Linked DNA regions of Homo sapiens: region 1 is linked to region 2. The links are contacts of gene promoters, found by promoter capture Hi-C in blood cells and fetal thymus (Javierre and others, 2016). All regions are on one chromosome and are shown on one strand. The core of a region is centred on a gene start or on the middle of the fragment in contact, and the rest is flanking DNA. Distances in the headings are between cores, read along the strand shown. Region 1 has its middle 14 kb from the start of DCAF16. Region 2 holds the start of LAP3 (leucine aminopeptidase 3).

Region 1 (5,237 bases), core at 1,540-4,039, 220 kb after region 2:
ATAGACTATGCATTATTTCTGTAAATAAATACAAAATTGAGATTTCCCTAAGCAAATCAAATACGAAAACAAATTGAAAAACTTTTTATTTTCTAAAAATATCTTCTGTGGCGCACATCTTATTGAAGTCAGCATCTACTGCAATTGTGGAGTATTATGCCGTAAGGACCAATCTAATTATAGCTGACAAGACTCCAATTTGCCTATACTTTTAATGTCAAATTTTTAAAAAACTGATTACTAAATAACATACTTTCTAAGAAATAAAATTTCAAATTTCCTGCTTATTTATACACTTTCCATTGTACTCAAATACTTTGTTCCCAGTTTTCCTAGATACCTACTTCCTGGAACCTCTGTCCTACTTACTTGACACAGTAGTCATCCTGGGACTTTCCTCGTTTTCCTTTGTGACATCTTTTAGTTTCAGGATCCCATGCCTTCTCAGATTACTCCCTCATTTTGGTAAAGCACATCCTCCAAGTGGCTTCCTAAGAAAAGGTAGATGGTGAGATAAAATTCTGAGACCATGCAAGTCTTAAGGTATCTTTATTTTAGCCCCACTCTTGATTGGATTATTTGAGTACAAAATTCTGCGTTGGAAATCATTTCTTTTTAAATTTAAAGACCTTGCTTTCATAGTCTTTCCGCATCCAGTGTTGCTACCAAGAAATCTAAATGCCATTTTGAAAACGTATCCTTTTTATGTAACTTTCTCCGCTACATTTATTGGGAAGCTTTTAGGTCCTTCCATAACTCTAGCATTCTGAAATATCCTAACAATGTGCTTTGGTATTTTTTAATTCATTTCACAGGGCACTTAGTGGACCCTTTTAATTTAGAAGACTAAAGTCTTATTATTTCCGGGAAATGTTATTTTAATTTTTTTCTCTCTTCACCTTCTTTCTCTGTTCTCTCATTTTGGAACTCATTTATTAGATGTTGCATCTTATTCAGGTTTAAGTTTCTTTTTTGTTCTTGCCTGCTTTTCATCTCTTTGTTCTACTTTTTAAAATTTCTTCAAGTTATTTTCTAATACATCTACTGAATGTTTACTTTTGGTTTCCTGTTTTTCCAATAGCTTTTGTTTTTGGATTGGTCATTTTTTAAAATAGCATCCTGATCCTATTTGATGGAAGCAGTATATTCCTTTCTGAGAATATCACAGCTTCTTTATGTTCATCTTTCATGTTGAAGGTTTCCTCAAATATCTAGTGATCCTTGGCTATCTGTGTACAGTGATTCCAAGTGACTGAAAGCTGTATATGAAGGAGCAGGCCTTGTGGACTCTCAGTTTCACTGTAACAAATAATCGAGGGTCAAGCTGTTTTTTTACTGCTTGTCTTTTTCGGTCAGGTGAGCAGGGCTGGGTATAAGCCCCATTGCCAGATTCTGTAGCCAGGTGGAGAAAAGTGGACTGGAGGCTCATAATGTTCAGAATACTCACATTCTGTTAATCATTTTGTCTTCCATATAGCACATCACTACCATTACCATCCTCCCCCTGTCCTCAGTTCTAAGTCTGTTTGGTTTAATTTCTCCAGACAATAAGGCTTCAGTCATCTGCTAGAGAGATAGCTGCCTGCCTACAAAAGAAGAGCAAAAATAAATGTTCAAATAATCCCCTTGTTTCAACTTTCTTTATTACTCCCACCTTCCAGGGTACCTTGTGCCTTTAAATCCTCAAGTCTTTTGGGGGTTCTGGAAGGCAAAGATAGGTGTTCCAAATTTGTGAACCTTTTCTGTGATGAAGAATGGGTATCATAACTGTGCTACCTATCGAGTATTTTTTGTTTTTAAAGAGTGATATACTTTCCCTTCATGGTAAAGAAGAGTGAGAAAGTAACTGCTTAAAACACACACAGATGGCCAGGTGCGGTGGCTCACGCCTGTAATTCCAGCACTTTGGGAGGCTCAGGTGGGTGGATCATGAGGTCAGGAGATTGAGACCATCCTGGCCAACATGGTGAAACCATCTCTACTAAAATACAAAAAATTAGCTGGGCATGGTGGTGCGCACCTGTAGTCCCAGCTACTCAGGAGGCCAAGGCAGGGAAATTGCTTGAACACAGGAGGTGGAGATTGCAGTGAGCCGAGATCGCACCACTGCGTTCCAGCCTGGCGACAGGGTGAGTCTCCATCTCACAACGACAACAAACCACAAACCCAAACTACCTGCTGTTGAGACAGCATTTAAAAAATTTGTGTTTGCAAATATTGTAATGGTTATGTGGTTATTTTAGCTAAATACCACGTGTCTCCTATAAAAACTCTCATATCTGCAATTGGGCCTCCTCTTCTGACACTCAACAACAGTTCTAAGAAATAAATAAATAAATATATAAGAAATACAACTTGGGTCAACTATGTGTGAGCCTTCCTTGCCCCCAGTCTCTTATTATTAAATATTATTATTTTAGAGATGGGCGGTTGCTCTGGTGCCCATGTTGGAGTGCAGTGGCATGACCATAACCCACTGCAACCTCAAACTCCTCAGCTCAAGCAATCCTCCCAATTTAGCCTCCTGAGTAGCTAGGACTACGGGTGTGCACCAGCACTGCTCCTGGCTACTAGTCAATTACTTAGACATAAGAAAACAACACATACTGGAAAGAGTCAAGACAGTTCCTGGGAACAACTACATAGACTAAAACCCAAGCTTAATCCATGCCACTAACATATTTATAGGGTTGCAGATAAAATGCAGGAAACTAAATTTGAATTTCAGATAAATAACATAACTTTTTTTCTGGTATATGTGCCATATTTCATTATTTTTCTGAAATTCAAATGTATTCGGGTGTCCTGTATTTCTTTTTGCTACATCAGGCAACCCAACCCATTTAAAGAAACGTGTCCCAAGTAGGATGTGACAACACAGAAAAACTGCATTCAAAGAAGGAAACTGGGGTCTGGTCCAAAGCTTTCAAGCCATGGGAGTCTACTTAAGTACCAAGTAGGTAGACAGGGATCAATATCATATAACACACTTTGCAGTAAGTCTACATGGAATGCATTGTCTGTGGCCAACATTAATGCCAGCTTTCAATTGATTCAGAAATTAGAGTTCTTCAGGTAGTGGCTGCACCCTTCTTTCACCAGAGCTCTGCCAGTCTATCAGGCCATTCTGGTTACTCAGGGTGCAACCAGAAAGCCCACCTAGGGTCTTTTTTGATGGAAGATGGCCATGCCCTTGGGCTGTTCCACTTGTTTGGGTACCTCTCAAAGAAGTTGCCCCTACTGGTCCATTGCTTAATTAATTTATTGTAAACCAAAACCATCAGCTGATACATTGGAGTGTCAGGTGCCACAGCTGATACCATAGATGGAAGGGTAGTATCAGGCATAGGCTGAGCAGTTAACCCAAACTTAACAATTTCTCCCCAAATAAAACTATAGTACCAGCTCCTTATTTTGCAACACTCATTTGAGGAGTTTCATCTGGTTTCTGTTGCTAATTTGAGAAACTAGCTTGGTTTATGTGTATACTAGGAAGTCAGTTTTAATCTTGTTAAGCTAACCAGTATCCTGAGTCCCTCCTGAATGATTGTTGTTATATAGAGCCTAACTCCCCTAATGATCCCAGGAATTTTCATATCACGTGTCAGAATCTTCCTAAATAAACTGCCCAAATTCCAGTCAACTTCGTTTTATGATTCAACTTGAAACTGTTGCTAACGTTTTTAACTGACTCCACAGTTTAGAAGAAATAACCCTATCGCTGTCTTCCTGTTACACTGTTATTTTCCTTTTTTTTTTTTTTTTTTTTTATACCAGGTACCAGTGTAACACCAGCACTTTGGGAGGCTGATGTGGGAGGATCACTTGAGCTCAGGAGTTCCTGACCAGCCTGAGTGAAACTGCCTCTACAAAGAAATACAAAAATTGGCCTGTGTGGTGGTGTGCACCTGTAGTCCACAGCTACTGATGAGGCTGAGGTGGGAGGATGGCTTGAGCCCAGGAGGTCGAGGCTGCGGTGAGCCAAGATTATGCCCCTGCACTCCAGCCTAGGCAAGAGCGAAACCCTGTGTCAAAAAAATAAAAAAATAATAATAATAATAAAAGAAAACCAGGCATTCATTTTCCAGAGCTCATTGAGAATAGCTGGTCATAGCTCTCACAGAAGATGGGAAGCCAGCAAGTGTCAGGTCACTGTGGTATATCCTCATCCTTTCCATTTCTTGGTCTCAGTTGCAAACTTAAGTCTCACTGCGGCTGCTAATTGAAAGGAAGAGCTTGGCAAACTGCATGGAATTAGCAGACTCAAATATGTAGTCATTAACTCAACTGTATTTAAAATTATTTGAGACACATCATAGACATTTTTCTTTTAGCAACAGCAAGTTGACATAGAAGTACTGGTGGTTGGTCCAGCTAATGTAACTCCCTCAGTCCAATGGGTATCACTGGCGGACAGATACGTTACCAGCTTGCACAGTTAACTCATGAAGTCTGAGAAGTTATCCATACTTCTCAGGCTGTTCTATATGTCCTAGCTACCTGAGCAAAACACTTTTGGCCCTGATCTTTGTGCCACTACCTTGTGATTAGCAGATATAATTTAAATCTGGATACAAAATATCTATATATTTTCTCCATTTCCTTGGCTGAGTATCCGTTGTGGGGGTTTAATTGAAGTCTGCCCTCCAGATGAATCTTCATTATACTTGGATGGCTGCTCCATTCAATTCTTTTATATGATTCTCCACTATAAGCTATTTTCAATATGTGAAGGGCCAACATATGGATTAGGGTTTAGGTTTATTTAATATGACCCTAGACAGCAGAAATGGCTTGGGGTAACATATAGGTTCATATATTTTAAAACTAATTTCCTATGTGTAGTAATCTTATTTAGTTTTGCATTCCCAGTGTCTGCACTAGAGTAGGCACTTCTCCATAGCAATATTGGATGAATGGCTAAATTTCTAACAAGAGATATTTAAAACTAACAGGCTGCTCCAAAAGACATATTCTCTAACACTGGAGCCAAAAGTAGAAAGCCAGATGCAAGCCAACTTACGCATCAGAAAATAACCCAAGTGACTTCTAAAGTCTTTAAATGCTTTAGCTATTTACACTATCAAAACATTTTCATCAGAGACTTTTTTTTTAAAATATGGACAGGTGTGATAGAAGACCCAGCAGGAAGGGCTTCTATCCCCTAGAGGGGACCTATCATATGCCCTCCTGCCATGCATGTATGGATTTTTTTCTTTTCTTAGGAAGCAGATGGG
Region 2 (5,245 bases), core at 2,746-5,245:
GGAGCAGAAGGAACAGGAGCATATGCACATATAACTCTGTGAAACACTGCCTTTTCTTTTTTTATAACAATATTTTTACAATCACCATATCTCTTGCCTCTACTAGATAATAGAGGACAGCAGAATATAAAACTTTGACATAAAGATTTTTTTGAGCTAAAGGCACTTAAAATACAGCAGATGCAAGAAGGGTACTCTGGCCTCTCTTTACTTCCTGAAAGCAGGAGATCAGCTCTCATGTGAATGCTGCCCTCCCTGCACCAGAAAGAAAGGAACATTATCACCAAAGAGGGAGAGTCAAGGCCGAGAGAAATCTGTACAAACAACTCTTGTTAGACTAACCTTTATTTCCTTTAGTTTTCCCATATAAATATACTTTTTCAAAATTACTATTTTTGTTCAACCTAGTATATGAGCACTTAGGCCTAACCATTTTGGGGGGTCTCGATTTTCCTGTAAGGGCTTCCAAGTACGTGCAAAACTATTAAATAAAATTTATATGTGTGTGTGTGTGTGTGTGTGTGTGTGTATATATATATATATATATGATTATTATTATTTTTTGAGACAGGGTCTCATTCTGTTACCCAGGCTGGAGTGCACTGGCACAATCATGCCTCACTGAAGCCTCAATCTCCCAGGTTCAAGTGATCCTCCTACCTCAGTCTCCCGAGCAGCTGGCACTACAAGCATGCACCACCACATATGGCTGTTTTTTTTGTATTTTTTGTACAGACAGGGTTTTGCCATGTTGCCCAGGCTGGTCTCGAACTCCTGGGCTCAAGCGATCCACCTGCCTTGGCCTCCCAAAGAGCTGGGATTACAGGTGTGAGCCACTGTGCCCAGCCAATTAATATGTTTTTCTCGTTAATCTGTCTTATGTCAACTTAATTCTCAGGCCCAGCTGGAGACCCTAAGATGGTAGAGGTTAAGTTTTGCCCCCTCTACAATAATAAAATCCTTGAAGACAGGGACACTGTTTTAGATTCTTTTTTATCCCATGATTTCTAACAGAAAAACATCTTAAGCACCTTGTAAACTTAGGGTTTGAAGGATGACTAAATCTTTCATCCCAAAGTGATCCACAATCCTGATTATTTGTAGACTGTGAAATGTACTTTTCTTTTGTACCATTAGGCATGTGAAAATGTAAATGGTGTGGTCCTTGAAGCAAAGAGAAAAGTAAATGATACACCAGAGTCTCAGGCTGGACCCGCAAGTCAATAAAACAGGTAATAAATTCAGCTGAGCAGATACAGACAAGGGTAACCTACAGCTCTGAGGCTTGGATGCCTCTGAAGCTCAGAGACCCTCTACTCACATACCAAGGAGGGGACAGGTTTTCGCATTCCATTTTTTAGTTTCAGAAACTGCGGCCTGATCTATCACGTTGGAAGGAGGGAAGAGCTGTAAAGTGAATGTAAAGATTTCGCTGTCTTTGGAGCAAATATAGATAAAATTTGGTGAGTTTATTGAGTTTATGATGCAACTCCATTTTAACTATCTAGAGAAGGTGGAAGCCAGAGTGGACCTACCAGTCCAACCCACTCAGCCTTCAAGAGAGGAAGATCAAATCTCTCCTCTGGAGTGTCTAGCTCTTGGAGAGTGAAATAGACATTCTTTCTTTCCTGCAACTGAGCTCAAGGTGAAGACTTTGCTCACTGCAGCTGGTGTAAGCCTCCCCACACCCCTGCACCTCAGCTAAAATTGCAATCAGATCAACAGTGGTGTAATTTTTTTAAAAAGAGATGGGGTCTTGCTCTGTGACCTAAGCTGGAGTGTAGTAGTACAATTATGGCTCACTGCAGACTCAACCTCCCAGGCTCAAGCAAACCTCCTACCTCAGTCTCCCCATTAGCGGGACTACAGGCACACATCTGGCTAATTTTTTAACTTTTTGTAGAGATGGGTATCTCACTACCTTGCCCAGGGTGGTCTTGAACTCCTGGGCTGAGTCGATCCTCCCACCTCGGCCTCCCAAAGTCCTGGGATTATAAGCATGAGTCACTGCACCCAGCTGGCTGGTGTCATTATTAAGAACAATTTTTGTATCCCTCCTCGTGCTTACCCATATTCTCCGAGTTGCATTCAGCTGTGTACTTTTTTACAATGAGAAATTTAAAACCAGCCGGGCGCGGTGGTTCACGCCCGTAATCCCAGCAATTTGGGAGGCCAGGGCGGGTGGATCACTTGAGGTCAGTACTTCAAGACCCACCTGGCCAACATGGTGAAACTCCATCTCTACTGAAAATACAAAAATTAGCCAGGCGTGTTGGCGGGCGCCTGTAATCCCAACTACTTGGGAGGCTGAGGCAGGAGAATCGCTGGAACCCAGGGGTGGAGGTTGCAATAAGCTGAGATCACACCAGTGCACTCCAGCCTGGGTGACAGAGCAAGACTCCGTTAAAAAAAAAAAAGTAAAAAATAAGGAATTAAAAAAAACAAAACGCTTTACAGAAAATAAAAATATATAAAAATATTGAGCACTACTTGAAAACTTTCTATTGAAACCATCCCCACTGTGTTGACAAAAATTTCATGCCAAGTTCTAGGCAGAAATATAGTTATAATTAAGCATTAATCAGGCTGTACTTTGGCCCACTTCCTTGTTGCTAAAAGTCACCTAGCACTACATACTGACCATTTGCATTCCCATTGTTCCTATAGACAGGATCTCTGACATTAGAATCATAAGCTTTCTGTTTAAGGATCGCTTAAGATATTTTTCAGACCTTGAATTCCAGCTACCAGTTTGAAGATCCCCAGAGAGGAATGGGGTCAGCTTAAGAATACAGGTTCTTCAACGCCCTGTCCCATGACTTCACCCTGCACTCTTCAATCAACGATCTCCACACTATAGCCCTCTCCAAAACCCTTAAAAACCTTGACCCCAAATTCCTCAGGGAGATGGATTTGAGGTTTCCTCCCATCTCCTCCTTTGGCGACTCCACGATTACACCTCTTTCTCTGCTGCAACCCTGGTGTCTGGGCGTATTGACTTGCTATGTGCACGAGTCAACGAACCTAATAGTGTTACATCATTTTCAAAAACAGTATTTACACCGTTGCACCTGTGGAACAGATGAAAGGACACGAATAAAAATAACTCAGGCCAGGTGCGGTGGCTCACGCCTGTAATCCCAGCACTTAGCGAGGCCGAGGCAAGTGGATCACGAGGTCAGGACTTCGAGACCAGCCTGGACAACATGGTGAAACCTCGTCTCTACTAAAAATACAAAGAGTTGCCGGGCACGGTGGCTCACGCCTGTAAGTAATCCCAGCACTTTGGCAGGCTGAGGCGGGTGTATCACCAGAGGTCAGGAGTTCAAAGCCAGCCTGGCTAACATGGCCAAACACTGTCTCTACTAAAAATACAAAGATTAGCCAGGTGTGGTGGTGGGCGCCTGTAGTCCCAACTACTCGGGAGGCTGAGGCAGGAGAATCTGTTGAACCCGAAAGGCGGAGGTTGCAGTGAGCCGAGATTGCGCCACTGCACTCCAGCCAGGGCTACAAGAGCGAGACTCCGCCTCAAAAAAAAAATCCAAAAAAACAACAAAAAAACACAAAGATTAGCTGGGCGTGGTGGCGGGCGCCCCTAATCCCAGCTACTCGGGAGGACGAGGCAGGAGAATCGTTTCAACTAAGCAGCGGGAGGTTGCAGTGAGCCGAGATCGCTCCATTGCACTCCAACCTGGGTGACAGAGCGAGACTCCGACTCAAAAAAACCAAACAAACAAACGAAAACTCAGTGGGAGTGTCTTCACTATGCAGTCGTCTATTCAGCAACCTTGACAACAAGCTCTGGCACTCAGTTTCTATTTCCCGGGAGTTGCCCAGCGCTCCGCCCACGCCCGCTTGCAGAACTCGCCCCGCCTCCGCCCCACCCATCGTGTGACGTCACCATATCGGTCCCGCCCCTCTACTTCGCGTTGCTCCCGGGACTGTCAACCGCGTCCGGAAGCCCCGCCTTTTCGCCCCCGCCCGCATGCGCGGGCGCACACGAATGCGGGCGCACACGAATGCGGGCGCACACGAATGCGGGCGCACCCTTGAGTCCCCTCCACAACCGCGGTTTGATCCCAGCGGTCCAGTCGGCCGGTGCTGCCCATCCGTCCCGCCCCCTAGACGCACGTCCGCTCGCCCGGCGCCCGAGCCAGTCCGCGCGCACGCCGTCTGCGCCCCGAAAGCCCCGCCCCAAGGCGCGCCCGCCCACCGCTCTCCACGTGCTCGCTGGAGGGCGGTGCGAGGGGCCGAGCCGACAAGATGTTCTTGCTGCCTCTTCCGGCTGCGGGGCGAGTAGTCGTCCGACGTCTGGCCGTGAGACGTTTCGGGAGCCGGAGTCTCTCCACCGCAGACATGACGAAGGTGAGAGGCGGCGGCTCGCTCATGGTCCGCCGCTGGGGCCCTGCCCGTGGGCTACTGGGGCTGCGGGGCTGGTCGAAGCCGCGGTGTCCTGGGCGCCCAAGCCAAGTTGCAAAAATCAGTTTAAAAGAAAAATTCTCTCCTTGCGGGGATCGGCCTAGGCCGCTGAGGACCCCAGCGGTCGTATTGAGGGCGCGATTCCCCTGCTCGGGGCTAGGGGGTGATGGTTGTAGCCGCCCTTTACCCGGCTCCACTCGGCCGCGCACTTGCTCCAGTCGTCACCCGCGGTCCTGGCAGTAACCCGGGGAAAGACGCGGCGGTGGGGCTCCCATCCGAGCTTGGAGGAAGCCCGAGTTTGCCAAGGTGAAAGGGTTTCTGAGGTCCCAGAGTCACAGGGCTCCTTCCCCCGCGGAAGTGAAAGGTCAGGGAGTTAAGTAGCTTGGAAGGGTTTCTAGAGGAAAAGCATGCCTCTCTAGAGAAAAGGGCTTTGGGGAGAGACCCACGTTTCCCAGAATTAAGAGCATCTTCCAGAAGAAAAGTGAACTCCAAAAAATTACGAAGGTCGCTCTTCAGATGTGAAGGATCTGCAAAGGGAATGGCTCTCGGAACCAGCACAAGCTTGGGAGTCATGCCTAAGCACCAGAAAGAGATGACTGTCCCTGCAGAAGAACGTTCTAGGGGGAGCTTGAGCTCCAGTCTCCTGCAGGTATCTCAGTGGTGGAGGGACCAGTCGCCTGACCAGTGCTATCTCCAGTACTGTGCCACAGCCTACCCAGATAACAGTTGCTCAGTTGGCTCCATTGATTCCCGGGGAGTGAACAATCTTAGGGAAGTTAGAACCTGGCAGAGTTACCAATGCCAAGGAAGGCCGTTTTCTTTGGTG

Evidence for each region. The method cuts DNA at HindIII sites, captures the fragments that hold promoters and counts their contacts. A CHiCAGO score of 5 or more calls a contact.
Region 1: a fragment that was not itself captured here is called in contact with the fragment with the promoter of LAP3 in region 2 in 13 of 17 cell types (total B cells, fetal thymus, neutrophils and 10 more); the score reaches 11.2 in total B cells.

The regions. Positions count from the first base shown.
Region 1 is chr4:17,794,562-17,799,798 of GRCh38, forward strand. It overlaps a transcript of DCAF16 not described here. Among named protein-coding and RNA genes, the nearest start is that of DCAF16, 14 kb to the right of the region's middle. The HindIII fragment of the contact is 264 bases long and covers 2,658-2,921 here.
Region 2 is chr4:17,573,203-17,578,447 of GRCh38, forward strand. LAP3 (leucine aminopeptidase 3) reads left to right here and starts at 3,996. Exons shown (of 13, transcript NM_015907.3): 1 at 3,996-4,365. The coding sequence starts at 4,264. RefSeq lists enhancers at 3,644-4,003, 4,344-4,543 and a silencer at 4,064-4,273. The HindIII fragment of the contact is 2,285 bases long and covers 2,694-4,978 here.